Linked DNA regions of Homo sapiens: regions 1, 2 and 4 are each linked to region 3. Evidence: promoter capture Hi-C in 16 types of primary human blood cells and fetal thymus (Javierre and others, 2016). All regions are on one chromosome and are shown on one strand. Each heading gives the region's core, a stretch centred on a gene start or on the middle of the fragment in contact. The rest is flanking DNA. Distances are from core to core; before and after follow the strand shown. Region 1 has its middle 120 kb from the start of SPOPL-DT. Region 2 has its middle 140 kb from the start of SPOPL-DT. Region 3 holds the start of NXPH2 (neurexophilin 2). Region 4 has its middle 160 kb from the start of SPOPL-DT.

Region 1 (5,398 bases), core at 882-3,381, 390 kb after region 3:
GTCGTAGAAAAAGACATATGTTACGGTTCTTGCAAAACATAAGTTTTGGGCTGAGAATTGCACCCACCTCATATAATAAGATGGATCCATTATATTATGTGGATTACAACAAGAGTCCATATGTCCAGTCTTATATATAACATTTACATGTGTGCACACACACCCCATTCTGACAACGAATTCATGAGTTTCATCTCCACCAAATACAATATAAATGACATTTCCATCAGCATACAAAATAGAGGGAAAAGTGCTGGCAGAGAGGAAGAATGAGATGAGTAAGAAATCAGTAGGAGTGCGTAAGTCAGAAATGCCAAGCAGGGAATGAGGAAATGGGATTTGAAGTGGCAGGGGCCACTGGTATTATGAGCTGGAGACTTCTGAATGACATTGTAACTTTGCAGTCAGCAGCAGAGCAGCTCTTCATCCTTTTCTAGGATGAGGCCAGGAGAGACAGCAGCAGGCAGCTACCTAAGGAGAAGCCAAGAGAAAGGATCTGAAGTCCCTGTGAGATACAGAGAGAAGACTGATTTTCTGATTTCCTGTTCTTACTTCTAGTACACCTGTAGCCAGGCTATGCCTTCCTTACAGTCATCTCTTTTCATCTAGTTTTCATGGTGCTCAGTTCTGTGTGTGTCTATTATAATTTTTGACATGATTTTCTATAGCTTATTTAAATTTCTGAACCTCTATCCCTATTCTTCATGACTCAGAAAATAAAATTTAAAGATTCAGTCTAATTTAGTCAGTCATTTCATGTTGGAAACTGTCATAATCAGGATTGTTGGACTCCTTCGTCTTGGGTTGTGTTGCTGAAGGCCTTAAGCAACGATCACTGGTAGCATTAGTAAAGAGGGAATATTCCTCATTAGTACACTGTTTCACACTATTCTTGCATCCTTTAAGTTATAACTCATACTATCTGGTCTTAACATAGTCCTCATTGACACTGGTCATCTGTTGAGATTTAACCAACAGATTAACCTTCCATGTAACCTTCCATGGGACATTCCACACTCTCTGTTGCAGATTCCCTCATCCCAACCATGAGCTTTTTCCCTCTTTATCCTTCCAGCTTCAAATATATACTTACTCTTGAAAAGTATAAAGACTCTAAATTGCAGTATATGCTACTGGATAAATATTTAATAGCCCCTTGGAGTGATTTCTGAAGATTAATATTATACACCATGGGAAAAAAGAGTATCTGTCTGAGTGTGTGTTTGTGTGTGTATTTTTCTTTCCAACTAAAGGCCATTTTCAACCAACATAATTTTTTAGTCAATGTGATCCAGGTTTAAATCCCATTTTTAGCTACTTGTTGACTGTGTGGTATTGGGCAGTTTAGTTAAGATTACTAAATGGGTTTCTATAATTGCAAAATTAGGAGAAGAATGTTTACATCATGAAGTTTGAGGGGCTAAAGGGACTTGGAACACTATAGATGCTAGGCAACTGTTACCTATTTCTGTCTCATTCCATTTCATTAATGATGCAAGTTTGATGTGGGCAAAGTAAAAGAAAAAAATCAGACCGTAAATTAAAATGTAGAATTCTTTTAAAGTTATTCTGTGTTCTTTGTACATCTTCCTTTATTGTCTTGAAAACCACTTGAACCCAATAGGTATGTGAGATAATTTGGGTGAGGGTCGCAGCAAGGATCTTTAATCAGAGATCTGCTTCCAAAAGCTGATCAGGTATAATGGATCATATCTTTGATAAATTTTGATGCCTTATAAAATTAAGCTTTATTATGTGCTAAAGCTTTATGCATCATAAAGGAGATGTGGAACAATGAGAAAGAGAAAGATTATTCAGTAAATCTTATTTGGGCAATTGTTTAGCTACTTGGGGAAAAATTCAATTTGTATTTTTATTTAACAGCATAAGCCAAAAAATATTATATTAGGATTAAAAAGGTAAATGTAGAATATCAAACCTAATTAGACCCGGTGGAAATAAGAAGTGATTATTTTCTAATTCCTGGATCAGGGTGGAAGAATTCATAAAAGAAAATAATAATAGATTCAACTATAGAAAAATATGAAAATTCTCAATATCTTGGGTATTATGAACAGAACTTAAAGGTAGAAAAACTAAAAGTTAATTAACTACATATATGCCAAATTATTATCTTAACATTTAAAGCAGTTACATATATTGATATGACTCCATAATGTTAATGGGCAAAAGACATGAACAGATAATTTATTATAAAAGCATACAATGTTATTTAGAGCTTGAAAAGATAAAAGGCGAAGTGACATAAGATATTCACCTATTGAATTAGAAAATATGAAAATAGCCCAATGTTGCTAAGGCTCAGGCTTCACGCACAGCTCATGTAATATTGGTGAGAGTTTAAAGTAGATGGCATTTTGAAAGGCAATTTTGCAATACGTAGGAAAACTCTTAAAAATGCTTATATTGATAAACTTAGAAATCCAATCTCAGGTCATCTATGATAGCAAAATATTATAAAATTTATAAAAGCTTCATTATAACAATAGCCTTAATTCATTGTTTGTCTAGCACATGGCACATTTTACTTACCTTACTTTCACTTCTCAACAAAACTTCTAAATGGCTGAGTGAGGATTTGAATCTGTCTGTTTCAGATTCTGCGTGGGCTCTTTATTACAATTTTATTTTACCCAAGATATCTTTCATAATGTAATAGTGAAAATTGGCCAGGTGCGGTGGTTCACGCCTGTAATCCCAGCACATTGGGAGGTCGAGGCAGGTGAATCACCCGAGATCAGGAGTTCAAGACCAGCCTGGCCAACATGATGAAACCCCATCTGTACTAAAATACAAAAATTAGCTGGGTGTGGTCGTGCATGCCTGTAATCTCAGCTACTCAGGAGGCTGAGGCAGGAGAATCGCTTAAACCCAGAAGGTGGAAGTTGCAGTTCACCGAGATGGCGCCATTGCACTCCAACCTGGGTGACAAGAGCGAAACCCTGTCTCAAAAAAAAGAAAAAAAAAAAGTGAAAATTTAGAAATACTTTTAAAGTCTGTTAATAATGTAATAGTGAAATAAACTATAGTTGATGCTTTTCATATAATACCATGCAGCCAGAGATGGTATGGAAAATGCTTACTCTTAAATCATTTTAAATAAAAATAGTGAAAACAAATTAGAATATTTCTATAATTTTAACCATTTAAAGGAAGTGAATACAAAGAATGAGAAGAAATATAGATTAATAGTAGCTGCCTCTGATTTGTGGGACTATGATAATCATCCTTTTTGGTCTCTATACTTTTTGGGGCTTTTTACATTTTTCTAACAAGAATGAATTGACTTACGTTCAGATAAAAGTAAATTTGAACTTAAAAATTTGTGGAGCTTTTTATCTTCTCAGAGCATAGTGGAAATATATTATCTTTATTTAGTTAAGTCTTAGTAACATAGTCTGCTCACCAAAAGAAAAATGCTCTGAAGATTGACAGATGAGGCAATTGTTCTGAGATTAGTTTATTATTAAAATGTGTAATTAGACAAATCCATAGGGGCCATATGAACAAACAAGAGTATTTCTATCAACATTATAGAACGAAAACATTTCATTTATCTCTTGAAAATATAAGTCAGAGAATAAGAACCAACTTACAAATCCAATAAAGAAAATTAAATTTCCAACACGATTGGAGGATAATTTGTGTTACTAATGACTTGCCCTGTGAATATATATGATGTCTAGGAAACAAAATATCTCAAAAATTGTTCAAAAACGTATTTCTTAGGTGGGAAAATAAGGAAATATTTTAGGTGCTATCAATAAACTCACTCAACCTGATTTTTTTTTTAAATACAACTCTGCAGAAGAAAGTGTCATCTTTTTGAGCCCCATCTAGCCTTAGAAAAATATGCTTTATTATAACACATATAGGACAAAAGCAGTGATTTTTATATTTATTCTTATTTTCATGGTACAATCCTCTTACTTCCATAATTAACATTGTAATGATTTGATTATGATCAGTTTGTGGGATTATTAACCACTCTTGGTTTCTTCTCACCTCATTAACTAGCAAACTAGGCACTGACTGCTTAATAACCAGTTTCTCATGGACTGTTGCTCAGTATTACCAAATCTTTTTAGTTTTATGAAGCCATTTTCATTAGAGAGTGAATAGTTTCTCTATTTTTTCTTTTTTTAGCACATGTCAAAGTCACATTAAATATGCTTTTATTACCTAACTATGAATTATTTTTTTCTTAGAGGCAGCAGCATCTATTAAATGTTTCAATTAGTGTTGGGTTAAAAATTGATTTTTAGGTTAATTTCCTAAATATGTGGAACTAGTTTAGTTAAAATGACACTGCTCAATTCACCTGGTATCTTACTGACAACAGTATGAGAAAAAATGAGTTTAAAATAATAAACAATTATGGTAGCTTGACTCTTATTGTTGAGGGACTGTAACAATGAACTTGATTCACAAGTTGGTAAAGTTGTGATTAGGGAAACAGACCAAATTTAGCCCATTTGACATATACTTGTTCTTAGGTGCTTGATAAATATTTCTGATTTGAGTGAACTGGAGTCTACCAGCATTGCCTTTTTCTCCTTTAAAAAAATATGAATGTAATTGATGCTTATTTCCTGTGAATCCCCAAATTATTTCCTTTTTCTCACTTTTCTAGTGGATCAGTTTTTCCTTTTCATTTGTGGAATGTTTCCATATAATGCAGCTATTATTTTTTAAAATTTTTATTTAAGATGATTTATCTGTTGCTTTATGTAATTTTTAATTGACAAATATTGTATATATTTAATATGTACAACATATTGTTTTGAAATATATACATACACACATTGTAGAATGGTTAAATTAAGCTAATTAATGCATGCATTACTTCACATATTTTGTGGTGAGAACACTTAAAAATCTACTCTTTGCCATAAAATACATTCTTATTAACTGTAGAGGCCAGTTTGTATAATATATCTCCTGAACTAATTCCTCCTATCTAATAAAATTTTGATCCTCTGGCTAACATCTCCCCATCTCCCTACCTCCCCACCTTCACCCCCTGGTAACCACTATTTTACTCTTTATTCTATGAGCTTGACTTTCTAAGATGCCACATATAAGTGAGATCACGCAGTATTTGTCTTTCTTTTCCTGGGTTATTTCACTTAGCATAATTTCCTCCAGGTTTATCCACCTGGCTGCAAATGACATGATCTCATTCCTTCTTATGGCTGAATGGTATTCCATTGTGTGTGTGTGTGTGTGTGTGTGTGTGTGTGTGTGTGTGTGTGTGTGTATATAGTATATATATAGTGTATATACATATAGTATATATAGTGTATATATAGTATATACAGTGTATATGTAGTATATAGTATATATAGTATATATAGTGTATATATAGTATATAGTA
Region 2 (5,990 bases), core at 571-3,070, 410 kb after region 3:
TCACTGAACCTAACATGGAAAAAAATCCCAGATATAATTCTCACCTTTTTCCTGCTTTTTCTTTCTATTTAAAAAATTTCTATTAAAAAATTCTGCTCCACTATAGTGACAGACAAATTCTTAACCTCTTTGTTTTCTCATCCATAAAACAGACACCATAACTCTGTGTGTGTATGAGAGCACTTTGTAAAGTTATAGAAAGTTTGCACTATTCAGTGCCCTTTCAGCTGCAAGTGAAGGAAGTTCAACTCAAATATCTAAAAAGGCAAGTGGAATTAATTGGCTGATAAAACTGGACAGGATACTGGGTATTTTATAGGATTGAAGGACAAGCTGTAGAAACGTGCTTATAAAAGGCTGGAACTAGGTATTCAAAATGACCTGGATGCTTTTTTCCTCTTTTCTAAGACTACTCCAGGGAGTATTGTTCATATGGTATTCAAGGGGAAAAAGCATGCCAAGGGTGCAAGGTAGAGAAGGTTAATGGTGTCTTTGGAAATGTCACATGTTCTGAGGCTTGCTTGACTTTGCTTCTCTTTGTACCTTAGTCTCTTCTACACCAGATAGCTTTCCTCTCAAAACCTTAATATGGCCACAAAGAGCTTCAGCTTGTATCCTTCTAACACCATAACATAAAGAAAATAGAATCTTTCTTTTAGCTCGAGTCGAAATTTCCCAAGGACTCCGATTGGCCTGACCTGGGTCCTGTGCCTATTCCTGAACCACTGCAGACTGCAGGAAGGGGCCCTCTGATCTTGGGTCATGTTCTTGCTGCTCCTGTGATTGTGTATATGGTGGCTGGTGGGAGGGGATACTTGACTGAAAGCCCCTTGAATCATGGGGAGTAGAAAAGAGGTTCTATTATTCAAAGAAAGGAAATATGAACGACAAGCTAGCGCTATCATGGTCCGCCACAAATGAAAGCATTATTATTTCCTAATGCTTGAGATTATTCACTACCCTTCCACCTTGCATTACTGTGAAGAGTGTATTGTGCAGTAGCTGTACTTATATGACATTGTGATATGTAATAAGCCTAGATTTTCCTATTGGAAAAACAAACTTCTTGCTGAATTAGCATACTTCACCTCGGCTGTGCAATTATTCTTCACCATTACCCTTTTGGAGCACTCTAACACCATCACAAATGAGATATTACTTTTCCATAAGCTACTTTCATGTGGGCATGCTTTTTAAAAGTCCTGAAAAGGGGTGGTAACTATCTCCATTACTAAAAGACTAGAAATTCAAAGGGCATTCATTTGCTCAGTATGTCTCTCGAGTGTTTTCACAAATACCAAGAAGTCAGCCGGGTTCAGGAAAGAAAACGTGCATTTATCAGATGTACTTGCTGAGGCACATAAACAAATAGTACTGGGACTATGGAAATGATATGTGAATATGTTTCTGGAAATTTAAACAGAAGAATTACTCAGAGAGCAAAAGAAGGTGTCTGGGAAGTGATAACCCTTTGAGGGCCCACTAGAAAGATTAGAGATATATTTAAGTGAATAATAACTTATATAAAAAGTGAAGGTGAACTGGTAGTCAATTCAAGTTTAAAATCACAATAAAGAGCACCTTCTCTTTTCCTCAAAATTTCTTTACTCATCATTTCTAAGTTTCTATTTTGTATTTTCCTCTTTTTTCTTAATAACATATTTCTCAGAATTTGTCTATTTTAAAGACCGTTCTTTCAACTCTATACACAATCTTATTGATATAATTTTAGCCTTTTATTTTCTCTTATGTGTTGCTATTATTATCTCCAGTTTATAGATAATAAAACAGAGGTGTAGAGATGTTAAATAACTTGACCAAACTTGTGAAGCTGGTTAGTGGCAGAGCCAGCATATGGACCAAGACAGGCTGACTCCAGAGCACATGCTCCAAACCATCCCATCTTGCTGTATTTTCACTAAATTCAAGGTAAATGTTTGGGATCTGGTGTGTGGTCAAATTCTTATCTCGCAGGAGACTTTTTGTGTGATCAGATACATTGTATTCATCCATTTATTAAATATAACAAGATTATAATTTTCTTGAACATGGTCCTGAATACATGGATAATCTGAGGGCTAGAACTATATATCTCTTCCTCTTACTAGCTGTGTGAATATGGGTAGACTTCTCAGATTTCTTCACTTGTAACAAAGGGAACATACTAACTTCTTGACGCATCTCAGAAATTATTGGGAGAAAAAGAGATGGGAAGTGTGAATTGAGGAAGCATTAAGAAAATTGACACTGTGAAAATGAAACAAATTGAAACCAATACCAGCTCCTCACAATCTCTTGTCATCTCTTTTCCTGGTTTTATCCTGTCTAATTTAGATCATAAACTCTCCAGCCTGAAACCATTACCCCTTTATGCAGAGTACCAAGACTGGTGTCATTATTTAATAAAAGCACAAGAAGCAGCAGCAGCAGCAAAGGTTTGAAGTTAAATCCACAGACCTGAAGTGGAAGTTATATTGAGTTCCAACTTTATAGCAAAGTTATAGATAAGGGACTGTTAAAGGTAAGGGAATGGATCTATTTTCTTTATTTTCCTAAAACTAGTGTAAATGTAGCAATTTAGAGAGTGCAATCGAGTGTCAGATTTCTTGTACAACATTTCTGACTCAGCTTCTTAACAATTGTATAATGTTTTGAATACACCGGATTGCACAGATTCCAAGGAACACAATATTTTACATTTTCATATCTCATACAGTCAGTGGTGATTTATGGTCACTGTTGCACATGTGATAGTGGAAATGTAGTTGGCTTTGCCTGATCACACACATGCACTTGGTCATCACTGGTCAGGGTTATCTCACCTGAGTTATGAGCATTTGCATTACTGCACATGCTGAATTAGTTTGCCATTTAAATTGGCTTCAGATAAATTCAACAATATACTTGGGTTTAAGACAAAAAGTTAATGTATATGCAAAAACAGAGGAGTGGTGTTTAGATTTGATATTCGCGAAGCAAATATTCATCATTAGAAAAATGATCATTATGCCAGATTGTCTTGCAAAGAAAAAAACAAGTGTTTTATGACATCCAAGAAAGAAACATACCCACAAGTAGCTGAAATTGGGTTACATGTTTTTTACTGAGGCGCAGCAGAAGGATTGCTTATCACAACAAGCCATAGAACCAAAGGCAGGAGAAATTGCAACTCCCTTGAGATAGATGAGAAAAATTGCAAAGCAAGGAGAGACTGCTTTGATACAAGAACTCTTTCAACACGTGTAGAAGAAAACTTTGAAGTGACAAGAAAAGATTACATAATAGTTTATGGCATTTTCCCCCTTTTTTCATTTGTGTATTTAAAAAAATTATAATGCACTGATGACCTCCTAGAGATGATGAAATATGGAATCAACTTCTTACATTGTGTGAGGATTAAATGAAATAATATAGGCAAAGAGCTACTGCTGTGCTTGACATATAGTAAGCGTGTAATGCATGCTAGTCATTATTATGATCATCATTAAATAACAAAGGTCTTTCACTTTCATATCTGCTCTCTAAGGGATTAATGGGGGTTGGAAACAGCTCAAGTGGGATATACTTTATTTGAAAATAATATGTAGTTTGTGTTCTCGGGGAGAGCAGGGGAAAGTCTAATAGGCAATATTAGGAAACATGCCAAGTGTTTCTTAAGTCAAAGGGAAGAATGAAGTTGAAGACTTTTCCCAGCATGCTCAACATAGAATGACTTTTTCTGTCTTTGACTGGAAGTTACTCTTTTGCTACCTTAAGAAATTGCTACCCAACAACACGATAGACAAAGCTTCAGCTGCATTTCCTTAGCCAAAAATTGGAGACATCTCTACCTTGGCCTTTTATTCAAAAAGTGTAGTGTTAATTTCAGTGTACCACTTCACAAAAAGATGTTCATAGTTTTAGAATTTGTGATTTTCACAGCTTATTTGGAGCCATAAGCATATTGTAAGGACTTTATTGAAAAGTTCTCAAGTAAACAAGTGTGTGCCTGAGCTCACTGAATTTACACAGTGTTCAAATACACTGAATTTAACCTCAGAATTTTAATTTTCATCTAACTCAAGCTGTTGCATTCCTGAAAACATAGAAGATTTTATAAAGTCACGAGTGATGCTGATTGGGCTGTGAATTTTTTTCAGGATTAGTTCCCTGGTTAGAAAAACAGACTTTTGAGATAGTTTTCCAAAGTGTCTCTTAGATTGTGTTCAAGCAGCTCTATTAAAAAGTTAATTATTATTTTTTAAAACAAATTAATATTGAAGTATGAAAGACTTATTTGAATATATTTGACTTTTATTAATCAAGGTAACTACAGAAAATAAATTAAGCACATAACACCACTCCCCTTCACACACATACATTTTAAAATAACTGTTTGTGAAAGGCAAGCAAAGACTATGTGTACCTGACCTTTACCACTTTTATTATTTCAAAAGCACAAAGATAACAACACATGTTATTTGAGGTTTTGTGAGTGAAAAACCTCTCTTAAGAGAAAGGAATTATAAACATTTTAGTGCCAAAATAATTCTGGGTTTATTCTTCAGCCAAATTATTTTATTTTGCTTTTGTAATATAATTTTTATTGCTACACTCAAATTTTTTTGGCCTTGAAAACTATTAAACTATGTAGAAATACCTTGGCTAGTAGATATCATAATAACTGACTCATGAGACAATTGCTCTAGTAATCAAGCTAACAGTCATGATACAGCAATGAAGTATAATGTGTGTGTGTCACAGAATGTTAATGTGGTATGTTCACTTATTAATTTTTTTTTTTTTTTTAGAGACAGGGTCTCACTCTGTCTCCTAGGCTGTAGTGCGGTGGTACAGTCATGGCTCACTGCAACGCGGTCCTCTTGCCTCAGACTCCAAAGTAGCTGGGACCACAAGCACTTGCTACTGCAGGCAGCTAATTTTTGTATTTTTTGTGGAGAGGGGGTCTTTCTATGTTGCCCAGGCTGGTCTCAAACTCTTGGGCTAAAGCAATCCTCTGGCCTCAGACTCCCAAACTGCTGGGATTATAGGTGTAAGCCACCACGTCCAGCCTCACTTATTGATATTCTTAACAAGGTTATTCTTAGCAAAAAGGGGAGGGGAGCAAAATGCTGCTCAGGGACTTACTTGTTGGCTTAAATTTGTCCTCCAGTGTCCAAGTTAAGGAATGCCCTTTTTTGTATAAGCCACTCAAAAAAATCATCACTACTTGCCTTCAGCTTGTTTTTCCTGTAGGGGAGAGGCAATTTTTTTCTTTACCCATCACAGGTTCATGACTGAGGCCCCTATAATAAAGACAAATTAATAAAAGAAAAGCATATAAATTTATTTAATAGAAGTTTTACATGACACAGGAGCCTTCAGAAATGAAGACACAAAGAAAGAGAAAAAACTGTATATTTTATGGTAAGTTTGATGAAGGAGGATAGTCATGCAGAAGTATGAACAGCAGAAGGGGGCATGATCCAATGGTAACACACTGGAGGGGACTTGGCAAGGCTCATGTGTTCAGATTCTTCTTTGTTTTTCTGTGTCTTCAGTGATGGTATTTTTTTTCTCCAGGTATATGGTGGGTACCTCTGGAATAAAGGTTTTATGACCTACACAAGGGGAAGAGCAGCTAAGTTTCATAGCCTGCTTCAGGGGAGAAGGGATGAGGGGAAGATGAGAGTGACCTTCCTGCTTTTACTGTTTTCTCAAATGTCAAGGGGTCATATTTTGGGGTAGCATGTCCTGAACCCAAAGGATCTGACAGACTATAGAAGAATGGGCATTACTGCTGAATCTGGTTCAGATCTTTAAATTTATAACTAGGGTTTTCCAAAATAGAAAAGAAATTTTTTTCTATTTTTTCTAAATGTTGTTGACTCAAGAAAATTGTTGCTACGAAAGTCTAATCAATGATGATAAAATTTTATCCAAAATATTACCTTTCATTATTGTTTATTTGGCAAAAAGTACTTTGACCAGTGCTAGATAAATCACGGAAT
Region 3 (6,088 bases), core at 1,014-3,513:
CCTGTGATAGCTGAATGGCAAACTACCAAAGTACCAAATGGAGACAGGACCTCACCTTCTGGCTCTATAAATGAGTCAGCTCAGCTCAGGCAGAGACACCAAGTCTAAATGAGGTAGTGCCTCTTGCAAAGCGGTTAGCCTCTCTCCTCTTCGAGCTGTACCTCTTCAGAAAGGGGTTCCTCTGTTTCTGCAAAACCCTTCCTATTATGTCCGTTTTGTTTCGAAAAGGTTGTCTGTAAATAAGATGCAGCCCTATCCAGGGACGCAAAGTTGGGCAAAATCAACCAATAGAGATCCTTCCAGTTTTTGAAATCCTCTTATTTGTGCTTTTGGGACAGAATAATTTACTAGAACTGGTAGAACAGGGCTCTAAGCCTTGGTAAAGAGGGAATTTTTGTAGGGATGAGGAGTGGAATGGGTGAGATATAGATTTGGATATGCAAATAGTGGTTTTGTTTTTGAGTCTGTTGCAAGGCAAAAGGAGAGTCTGAGATCAAGCAGAAATGGGATGCAGCTGGTGCATCCTTTACCATGGAACCCCCAGTCAGGCTTAGCAAGGGTTTAGGGAGGATGCATGCCCCTTGCTTGCCACTCTCCCCCCCTACAGGAAATGGAGTTGTACTGGAAAGATACCCTACCTGCAGGCTCAAGGACAACACACTCTCAAATTCACACTGGGATCCCAGAACACTCTGGAATAACCTCCCTCCCCATCTGCACAATCTTGGCACACTCAGTGAAAGGAATAGTAGGATTTTGCCCTAGTCAAAGCAATCCTCCTGCCTTTGAAACCTAGGACCAAGGCTGCTCTGCTTCAACCGCTAAGATTTAACAACCCTCCTTCATTTCTATTTTGGGGTGGGGGTGGTAAGCAGAGGAGAAGGAAACTTTTTTTTTTTTGTCCAAAAATTACAACTTAATCTGTGCTTTTTGTTGGGTTTATTTTTTAAAGCCTAGAAATCAATTGCAATTCTACTCCCTTGCTTCAACATGGTTTTCTTCTCTAAGAGCTTTGCGTTTCTAGATGTAAGAAGCATTCTCGCCTTGGGTATTCTGTCGGAGCAACTGCCTAAAGTCTCATCCTTGGAGAAGTGAATGTATCTCTCTGGACCTTAGGTTTCCCACCTGTTCAATAAAGGAGTGACGAATGACGCCCAAACTCTGATCTACCGTAAAAACAGTGCAGGTCTGTGAGCCCCATTGCCTTTGATTTTTCCACTCGAGTGTCCAGCACAAAGATAGTAAAAGGTTAAGGATCTCTCCAATGGCGAGTTGTTAACACGGAGGTCGAGGCTCACAGGCATCAGGTTTGCACCTTCGCCCGTCCGCAAAGATACCCCTCTCCAATATTTCTGAAGTCGGAGGCTGTGGTGGGGTATCCTGCCTTTATTCTGCTTCTCCAAAGCCCGGGCAGAAGGTCTGGGAGCAACTTTGTCTGTCTTCAGGACACCTAGCTGTCTATACCATCCCCAAACCGGAGTAAACCAGACATCACCTAGCTCCGTTTCTCACAGTTCTGCTCCTGGTCCCTCGAGGTCCCCATTACTCCCCAACCCCAGAAATCCTTCCAGCCGCACCAGGCGCACTTTGTACCCCTTACCCGCGGCTCTGCGAGCTTGGCGCTGCGGCAGAGTAGGGCACTCTCCCAGGGCGTCCTGGGCTCCAGCCTCACCTCCCCGCCCCAGCCTTTTCCGTTCGCAGCTCCCCACGCCCCGCCCCAGGACTCTGCAATCGCCTTCCCCTCCTAAACTCTCTGGGCGCTCTCCAGGCGGGCGCACTCTTTCTTGCAGCCACCCAGGGAGAACCTTTTCTTCCCCTCATCCCCAATCTCCCCAGCCAAAGCGAGAGCCAGTCAGTTGGCAGGGCGCTTGGCACAGTGGAGCCTCTCGGACCGGCCTTCTGCTGGGCGGGGGTGGGAGGAGGCACCCGGCCTCTCGGGGCTCTGGGGCACCGGCTGGCCAGGCGTGCTCAGCTCGGCCAGGCATCCGCCCGGCGGGATCGGATCTGGAGGGCAGCCTCGCACTGAACCCATCACCCAAGCGCCCGAGCCGCCGCCTCCCTCCCGCAGGCGCCCCACGCGCTCACCCCAAGCCCGGCCAAGCGGGAGAGTCCAAGGCGCGACTGAAGCCCCCCGCCGCGTGCCGGAGCTCGAGCTGCCCCGCAGGCTCTTTGCCGGCCCCCTCCGAGGAGGGGCGCGCGGGGGGCCGGGAGAGGCACCTCCGGTCCGCCCACCCTCCCCCTTCCCTGCCCGCCCACCCGGCCAGAGCTGCGCGGCACGGCGCAGCGCTCGGATTCCGGGAGGGAAGCGCCGCGCTGTGTCCCTGGCGTCCTCAGTCCTGCCCCGCGAAGTGGAGATGCGCGAGAGGCAGGCGAGGGCGCGCAGCTCGTGAAAAGCCGCGCCAGCCGGCACCATGCGCCTGCGGCCGCTGCCCCTCGTGGTGGTCCCTGGCTTGCTGCAGCTGGTGAGTGCCCGGCCCGCGCGCCGTCCCACACGCCGGGGACGCGTTTCGGCGGGAAAACCGCGCAGGCGGCTGACTTGGAGCCCAGCCTGGGCCTGCTTGGGAAGTGGGGTTGGGGGCGCGCGGAGGGCAAGGAGTTTTGGGTTGCCTTAGAGGTCGAAAGGGAAGAATTGAAGAACGGAATAGACGGGATCTACAGGCGACTCAGGGGCTTAGCACGGGTTGGGACTTGAGCGCTGGGGTAAAGTAGGCAGAAGGTGGCCGGGAAGTAGGTCCGGGAGAAGGAAGCGGTTTATTGATAAGCGGTCAAGGAGAGGAAGGAAAGTAAATTGATAGGATGAGAAGGGGCAGAAAGACCTTCCTCCTGTTCACAGTTTGAGAGGCTTGGTGGTGTTTATTTTTCACGTGGTGTTTTGCCCAGATGCACACAGACACTTCTCCCAAAGCACAGCATAGTGCATGCATCCTCGTTCTCAGAGCCAGGTAGTGGCGCCTTGCTGGGAGAAAACTTAGGCAAAATACGGATTTGGGGGACAGCTTGGATTTCTCTTCGTTTTCCGTCTGGCGCTAGGGACTGGGATGGGGCTTTCTGCCAGCTGGGGACACAAGATATAACTTTCATGCCCAGCTCCGCGCAGGAGCCCCCTCTCGGGCATCTCGAAGCTGTCTTTTCAGGGAGACCGCCCGCCTGGTCTGGGTGGCTCGGAGGCGCTGAGGAATAAGAAACGTATTAAAATGTGGTTTGGGGTTCGCGTTGTCACTCTCTTCTCTCTTCCCGCGAGGCGCCACGCTCTCCTCCTCCTGATATACGCCTATGTTCTATATGCATGGCTAATTATAGTTGAGGGAAAACCAAAGTAAGATCTTCAAGAAGAAACTTTTAAAGTAAAATTACAGAAGGGGAGTGCTTTGGCTGGGTCAGCATCTGTGATGGATTTCTTCTGGTCACTTAGCTCTTGCCTTGTTAGGGTGCTATTAAGAGGGCTTTCTCCTGATGCCATAGTTTCTTTGGTCCTCATACTTAAGACTTTGCCCAAGCACTTAGAAGATGACAGTCTCTTCTCTCTCGCTCGCTCTCTCTCTCGTTCTCTTTGTCTCTTTCTTTTCCTATTAGGGGGAAAATCAAGTAACTTTGAAAGTTTATGATATGTATGATATTGTTAAGGCAGAGGCACTTTGCAAGTTCTGAGGGTGGAAGGAACTCTAAAAGGTGGAGAGACCTCTGAGATGCCCGTGGTCCATGCTTGTTACGGTGGAGATTAGCTTCACCTGCACAGCGTTAACTCAGAAACTCTTCAATGGCATCAAGAAGAAAATGCAATGATATGCCCAAATATCCTTGAATGAGCCATCACATACTGGCTATCTACAATACTCCATGTTAAAATACATTTTACATCTTAGGCATTATGAATCCAAAATATATGCCACATTAATCTTTAGTATCCCTTGCTTTAAAATTTTTTAGTCTGGATTCTAATAAAAGGTGATCTAACAAAGCAGCATTTGTATGGTGTGTGTAAGGAAAAGCCTGGGGAAATCAGGTGTTTATGTGGGGTCTTCAGAATATCTTCACGAATCTTAGTTCATTAATTTTGCATTTAATAAATATGAACTGTGTATCTGCTCCGTAAGCAGTGTGATAGGCTCTTAAAGATGAGAAAATATATTTGGGCACGTGTCGGGGAAAAGTTCTTCTCCCAGCTACTATATTGGAAATGTTAGATATTTTTTTTTTCCACACCGCCATAGTCAGTAAGGAATAGGAAATACATCTTGAAGGGATTATATGCTCTCCTTAAGAGCTAGATTCTAATATTACAGCATGGACTGATGGATTTGCTTTTAAAAAAGCTTATGTCAAATTCTAATCCATTTTGGGATTGTGCTTGGGTTGTAATGTTTTTCTCCTGGAGCACTTTATCATGGTAAGTGAGGTAGGGAGCTGCAGCCCTGTTGATAAGCACACATTCCTTACGCTGCCATCCCTTCGGACAATAAAAGGCTGTTTACATTCTCCACATTCTTAGAGCTGTTGCCAGCCTTATAACACAAGGGGGTTAGAATGTGAAAGGAAAACAGAGTGGCTGAGCATATCTAAATTGAAATATTCCCCAATCCCAGCATATGCCCTACTCCAGTAGGTGTCAAAAAGGACAGATCATGATTTGCTCATTTGGATGGCTCATAGTTTTGTTCTACCTTTTTCAGCTGATATTGAACTTCTTTGTTAAATCCTAACAGCAAGGGGATAAAATATTTTCTAGATATGAAACTAGTCATTTACTTTTCTAGGAACCATATGTACTAAAAAAATCTGCCCTTTGCTGACATAAGGCTTTTTTTTTTTTTTTTTTTTTTTAATTTTTTGGTGAGGGAGGAGTGAAGTTACCTTATTGTCGAAATTGGATTTTACTTTTCTATCTGCACTGCCAGCCTGAAGAACATACTTATAAAAAATATTAAATATTTTAAAAGAATAATAGATTCATTTGGGCATATTGAACATTTAGTGATATGAAAATTACCTGTTTGTTTCTGAAAGCAGTCACAGGGAATTGAGCCCAAATAAGTCACTAACTATGGTTATATATAACATATATAATATACACGTATATATAATACAGTCACAATAACTAGAATTTTTTTACCTGTTTATGTGATATTTAAAACTTCTAAGAAAACAGTAAGCGGAATTGATAAATACTGCAAGTAGGCTAGGAAGAATGTATGTCTCTTACCTGTCCTTGCCCATTTTCCTGGCCTGTGTATAGTGCTTTTAACAGACAGGTTGCTATAGCTAATTAATGGGATTACTATTTGCAAGATTTAAATATCCATCTTGAACATATTCCTTTTTTAAAAATTCTTATTCAGCAACATACTCTTATAAAGAATATTAAGAGCATGTTATATCTTTTCTGCCACTAATGAAGAAAAAAATTAGCATTTGAAATGAATATTATATCAAAATGAGTGTTGCTTCATCATGATACAAGGTAAAGACTTCACCAGATGTCAACTGTTTACAGATTTGCATGATGATTTGTAACTGGTAATAAGTGTGATTTTTTGCCTTTAAGTAAAAAGAAGATTAAAAAAAGAATAAATTTTAATTTAAATGAATGATTAGCTAACGTTTAAGATAAAATTTAGGGCTGATTTAAAAAATCAGTTTCTTACACATTTTAACTTGTTTTACTGTGATACAATGCTGAGTTTACAAAATAAAATATTAGTTAAAAGCAATGTAAGTTGGCAAATTTTTAGAATCCTATAAAATCAGATCCTTGTGATGAAAGATGGTAAAATTTTAAGTTCATCTTTTTAGTACCACATAATTTATTAAGGGTACTTACATTAAAACTAATAATTTTAATATTTGTTTAGTCTGATGATTCTATTTATTTCTTCTTCTGTACTTACAAGAATTGATAACTCTTTACTATCTTCCATTCAAAAATGACAACTTTCCTCATACAGCCTTGATCAATAAACATCAAAATAGTATTTTCCAGTGCCGGATGAATAGTCCTCTGTTGGCTATATGACAATGTGAAGGAAAAAAAAAAAAAAACACCACTATATCATTGTTATGACTTAGAGTTGGCCGTGCATTAAAATGAACT
Region 4 (5,682 bases), core at 1,451-3,950, 440 kb after region 3:
GACCTTGAGCAAGTTTTTCTGAGTTTTTGTGACTCGGTTTACTTGCCTGCAAAATGGGGATAGAAAAGTACTGACCCAGAAGGGTTGTTAGGAAGAGTAAATGATTACATATAAAATGACTAGAGCAGAGACCAGGAGTTCAGTACATTGGTACATATTAGCTATTGATATTTTTCTTCTAATTTCACTTGCTAAAGAACTTCTTGTTTTAAAATGTATAACATGTGTTCAATTTATTAATTGCTGTATTGAATCATTCTTCCTTTTTGTCTGTTCTGTATTTTTTGCTTTTGGAAAAATTCTGCCTTAGAACAGGGCCAGTTCTCTTACTTCTTACTTATAAATTCACCTAATTACCATTGTGCCTAAAATAAACCCCCCTTGAGCATTTTAAAATCCATTCAATATCTCCTAAATTTTACCTTATTTTAAACTATTTACATGTTTAGAAATAAACATATCTAAAAATTTACTATTGCAAATAATTATAGGAAATAAAAAATAATCAAATTTACAGAATTTTGTGGATTGGGGGATTGTTTTGCATCCCGTGAGTATGTCTTTCTATTTTTATTCACATTCATGACTAAAAAAAACCCTCTTTTTCTTAAAGAACATTTCATTAAAATAATGTATTTCGAATCATGACTACTTATATGAAATATTTCATTAAAAATATATAATTTCCCACATGTTTGAGTCACATAATTGATTATGACATAGTCCTGACCCAAATAGTAGGCAAACTGGAATATTTATAACTCTCTATGAAGGAATAGTGTGATTTAACTCATAAATCTGGACTGTCCCTATATTATTGCATTGTATAACACAATATAATTCTTTAAATTAGAAATATTTCGAAAAATCTGAGTGTAATAAAATTGTGATCTACTTTTTCACATTTTTGACATATTAGTGTCAATTCCTCACTAAACAGAAACTAGTATTTGATTAATAAGCACTTAATATACACCAGAAATACAGAACATAGAAATTAACGTTAATTTACAAAGACTAAACACGGAGAATAGAATATAAAATATCCTTTTCCAGATTATCAGATTTGATAACTACCTTTTACTAGACTGAGAATGGGTTGTGAAAAACTAACAAGAATTCCTTAAAATTTTCAATAGTCAAGAAAATAGTGAAATATTCCCCCCTCAGGAATATATATAATGTCATCATTTATGTAATGTTACAAAATCATTTTCTATATTTGTAATAAGTATTTATGTTGGAAGTGTCTATAAAATTGATGATAAAAGCTGTGAGATAACATAAAGATGATTTTTAAAATGGCCTACAAAGTGATTGCAAAAAAAGACATTGAATTTAAGAAGAGGTATACATTGAGAAATGAGATATATTAATAGTTTTAGGTTTTCAAACATCATTTTTGGGAAAGTACACTTAGAAATGGGCTTTCTCAAATCCAGGTATTGAAAAAATGTTTTATTGAATTTTTTAATAACCAACTCAGATATCCACTGGAAGGTAAGATCATGGAGGATTGAATTTTTGTCTGTTTACTGCTAGCTTACTGCTCTTTCTCTAACATCTAGGAGAGGGCCTGAAACGTAGCAGGAGCTCAACAGACATTGAATGAATACATGAATCTACTTATAACCTTGTTGACATTTTTCTAGGCCAAACTTATTGGAGCAAAATTACAGACAGTAGAACCCTGGGATTTTGCCAATCATTTCATCTGAATCTTGAAGTTGATCCAAATAAGTGTGTAAGGAAAACTTTCATCCTATTCTTGGTTCATCTCTGAGCTGAGGCAGAATACATATTTGTGTAAGGTGAAAATTTTATGATAGAGTGCTGTCTTATAAAACCCTAGCTTTAATATCAAGGCATGAAGGCTGGTTTTTAACTAAAAACACAAGAGTAGTAGTTGAGAGACCGTATAGTAAACCATTTACTCCTTACAGCTGTCAAAGCTTAGCTGAGAGAAGCACTCTGTAATAAAGATTTGTTATTTGCTTAACTATACTTAAGCAGTACATTTTTACCTCCACGTGCTCTGAAATCTGTTACTTTAATAATTTATTCCAGCACAGAGCTAATTCCTGTAACTGTGAACCTGCTGTATCTCTCTGGTGGAATTGGACTTCGTCACGATGACATTGGTTTATATCTAGGAATATTATAGAAAATGTCCCTAAAATATTGCAATTGTGTTTTCTGTAAGCTAGTTATTGATAAATTTTTAATTACATTACATGAGGGGATTTTATTTCAGGTTTTATGTCAGGATGGGTTGCATTTGTCTAATGGACCATATACATTTTTTAATGGTTCAACTGACCATGTTTGCAATTTTATGTTTTCTAAAGCTTACATATAAACTTCTAAGCTACCTACTGGAATGTGATTATTTTGATCTCAATGTTTATTTATGTGTGTGTGTGTGTGTATTCACTTCAATTCTTGCTCAATTTTATATCTTATTCTTGTTTTGCTTTCTTTTTTCTTACATATATTTAATTTATATCTTAAAATATACATGTCCTTATAAAGCACATTAAATCAATTGTAGAACAAGGTGGAAATTATTAATCAGTCAATTATTGGCTAATAAACAACTTTAAAAATTAAAAAATTAAAAATTAAAAATTTAAGGTAATTGGCTGGGTTATCAAATGACTTTGCAGTTGGAAAGATGACTTCATCATTATGGAAAACACTAAACATCAGACAGAGGGCAGCACATCAAAGTATAAAATTCTACGGGGAGAGAACTTTGTTAACCTGGAAAATACTTTTCAATTTTGTTCATTTGTGGTTCAAATCTATTTGTATAGAAAGAGAAGGATGGAGAGAAAAGGAAGACAGTGCCAAGAGAATAAATGAATAAATAGATTGATAACACCAATATAAGAAAGAAATAAGGATCTTCAGGGGTGTTTTAGCTGCTCACTATGCATCCTCATTGCATCTTGAGAGCATTCCGATGTCCCCAGGGAATAGCTGACATCAGATTTGGGCATCCCAATGAATTCTTTCTGGGTGATAGGGAAGGGGTTGTTGGAAAAGCTTTGTCAGAGCCCCTTAATGTCTGAAACTCTCTCCTGTCCCTGATTGCGTCTCATCACACTGGACTTTAGGTTTCTAAATTCTCAGAGGTGACTCTCATGGTCATATGAGGAAGCCTATTATTCAGTCCTTAATTACCTTCCCAAATATCACCTCCCAGAACAGGGGTTAAATCTGACTGCTGCAGCCTGGGCACATTCTCTGATAATATTTTAGCCTCATATTCCATGCAGGACAGGTGAGATCGTATATCAAGGATTTAGAAAAGGCCTCAGGATAGTCTGGCTGCCTGAGTTGGCAGATGGGGCAATCCTTCAGGCCCTGAGGGAAAGCTGAGCCAGGCAGGTTGTAAATGGCCAGGGAGGTTTCTGCAGGGTTGTATTTCTTGGGGACTGAAAGGCAGATGACCTTTAGATTCCTGAGAAGGTTCCGGATATGTAGTATATTATGACTTCACTACATCAAATTCCCCCTTTCCTCCTAAGTACTCAACCAGACACTCCTCATTTACTGAACTCATAAAATCTCCACTCATGGATAGAACTAATTATTCCCTAGTTTCAGACCTAGGTTCTGCTGCCTCCACTTTATAGTATTATAGGTAGAGTTGGGACAAAATCATTATAGATGGTGCCAAGGAATGCTATTATGGACTGAGAGGTCAGGCAGAGTGTCATTTTTACTTTCTAAAACAGAAATCCATTTAACTCATACTAAAAGTCATACTTAAAAAGGTTTTGATGTATCACATAAAGCCACTGTGTTTTCTTTAAATTTTGTCTCCTTTTAGTTTTATAAATTCTCATATTTGAACCTATAATTAAGAATTAATGTTGGTTTAGTGGTCTTGGAATTCCTAGAATAGAAAACATTTTTTTGTGGTTTGTTCATTTGTTAGAGTGTTTTGTTCCTCCCAATTTTAAAGTAGGAAAGAAGGGAAAATCATTAAGAATATTACCATTTAAGCATACCATTTTGAATTTTGACTTGAGGTAGAGCCTTGTTTCCAGGTAAGAAAGATGAAGGAATGAGGAACAATAAAAGTGTAATCTGAATTATTTGGAGATCTTTAAAAAAAAAAAACACCCATTTTCTTTATTCCTTATGGTTTGGGAGGAAGAAATGAGGAACAGAATGGACATGGTGAGCAAATACTTCTTGTATCCTCCATTCTTCTGGTTAGAAAGCACTGGAATAAACATTTAACACTTTCAAGATGGGATATTTGCTAATTTACAAACACTGCTTGTGCAGAGTTTTAGCTTGTTTGCTTTCAGATCCCTTCTTGCTTTACTTAGTATCACTAGATGAGGGCTTGCAGGGAGAGCAATCCTTGCAGGCTGTGTTTTTGGGCCCTCCCTGTATCAGCTGATTACATGGGTTTAGCCAAAGGGAGTCACAGACAGAAGGTCAGAGGGAGAGTGAAGGGGAAGAGCCAGGGTCTTTCCCCCATCTGTGTGACTCAGGCAGCATCCCTCTCAGTGTCTGAGTCTCTCCATGGCTCTGGATTTCATTGATGGATCTGCTGTATTTCAAATTCTGTCAGACAACCCTGGCCTTTGGGCTCTAGTGAACAGCCTCCTCCAGGCTGCCTGCTGCTGCTCATTTGTAGGTTGCCTCACCATCCCCTGGTCATCTTTTAGCTCTTTCATCACGTGGGGGATTGATTCCCTGTATTGTTTCCTCTGGTTTAAACACTTAGTATAATTTTTATTTTTCTGTTTCAAACTGAATGATATACCATTACAGCATTTACCTTATGCCTAAAGTAAAGAAAATTGAAAAGCATAAGTAGATTTTCTCGATCAGCTAATATTTATTCAAGCACAAATTGGAGAAAGCCTACCATGACTTCCTTAAGATAGTGTATTTAATGGCTCTCCTAACAAAAACACCAAGGATCACAGCTTGATTTAGAAGTCTAATGGTATGACCAGAATTCAGTTCACTGGATTGACTTCTTGTTTATTTGTTTTGTTCCCTTTAGATTGGCAACATTCTCAGACTTTATCTCTCTTTATCATAATACAAATTTCAAAAGAATAAAGAAGGAACTCTCCTAATAGCCACTAGCCTCCTGGAGGGAGACAGTTTTGGTTGCTGGGTCAGCTCCTCTGGCTCTGCTGCCTGCAGTGATTGAGTCTCTTCCAGACCCAGGCTGCTCCACTTTGCATCTGACCTTCCAAGCCGGGCTAGGTCCTGTCCCAGTCCAGTTTCTCTATTTATTGACTTCATCAGAAAGTTGAAGGTGTTGACAGAGTTTGTAATGTGATTTGTGAAGTTCAAACGAAGCCTTCTGAAATGAAAGGACTGCATTTCCTAATGGCCACTAATGCCCGGTAATAAACACATACTCATCAGATAATGAATACTTAGTTTGTTTTGGAATAAAAGTAGAAGTTTTATTAATTACCAATTCCTAGTAGAAATCTAAGTTGCCTTTAAACCTCAGTCAGTGCAGTGTGAATTCACAAAAAGAAAGACCACAAATATGAAAGTAGAAAAACTAAGCTATAAGAATGTTGTTATTTTAAGGGGCCAGTAAATAGCACTCTTCCTCTTTGGAGTTCTGAACAAATTTATGTAAATTATAAAAGAATCAGAAAGATAGTTAATGGACTATTGTTTTTATTA

Evidence for each region. Contacts are between HindIII fragments. The CHiCAGO score rates a contact against its expected background, and 5 or more counts as called.
Region 1: a fragment that was not itself captured here is called in contact with the fragment with the promoter of NXPH2 in region 3 in 1 of 17 cell types (M2 macrophages); the score reaches 5.0 in M2 macrophages.
Region 2: a contact is called between a fragment that was not itself captured here and the fragment with the promoter of NXPH2 in region 3, in 3 of 17 cell types (M2 macrophages, megakaryocytes and monocytes). The highest score is 5.9, in M2 macrophages.
Region 4: a contact is called between a fragment that was not itself captured here and the fragment with the promoter of NXPH2 in region 3, in 1 of 17 cell types (total CD4 T cells). The highest score is 5.2, in total CD4 T cells.

The regions. Positions count from the first base shown.
Region 1 is chr2:138,383,875-138,389,272 of GRCh38, reverse strand. No RefSeq gene overlaps it. Among named protein-coding and RNA genes, the nearest start is that of SPOPL-DT, 120 kb to the left of the region's middle. The HindIII fragment of the contact is 729 bases long and covers 1,767-2,495 here.
Region 2 is chr2:138,363,394-138,369,383 of GRCh38, reverse strand. No RefSeq gene overlaps it. Among named protein-coding and RNA genes, the nearest start is that of SPOPL-DT, 140 kb to the left of the region's middle. RefSeq lists a silencer at 2,631-2,925. The HindIII fragment of the contact is 3,938 bases long and covers 1-3,789 here.
Region 3 is chr2:138,776,565-138,782,652 of GRCh38, reverse strand. It overlaps NXPH2 (neurexophilin 2), which reads left to right and starts at 2,263. Exons shown (of 2, transcript NM_007226.3): 1 at 2,263-2,462. The coding sequence starts at 2,412. The HindIII fragment of the contact is 12,898 bases long and covers 1-4,315 here.
Region 4 is chr2:138,334,046-138,339,727 of GRCh38, reverse strand. No RefSeq gene overlaps it. Among named protein-coding and RNA genes, the nearest start is that of SPOPL-DT, 160 kb to the left of the region's middle. The HindIII fragment of the contact is 700 bases long and covers 2,351-3,050 here.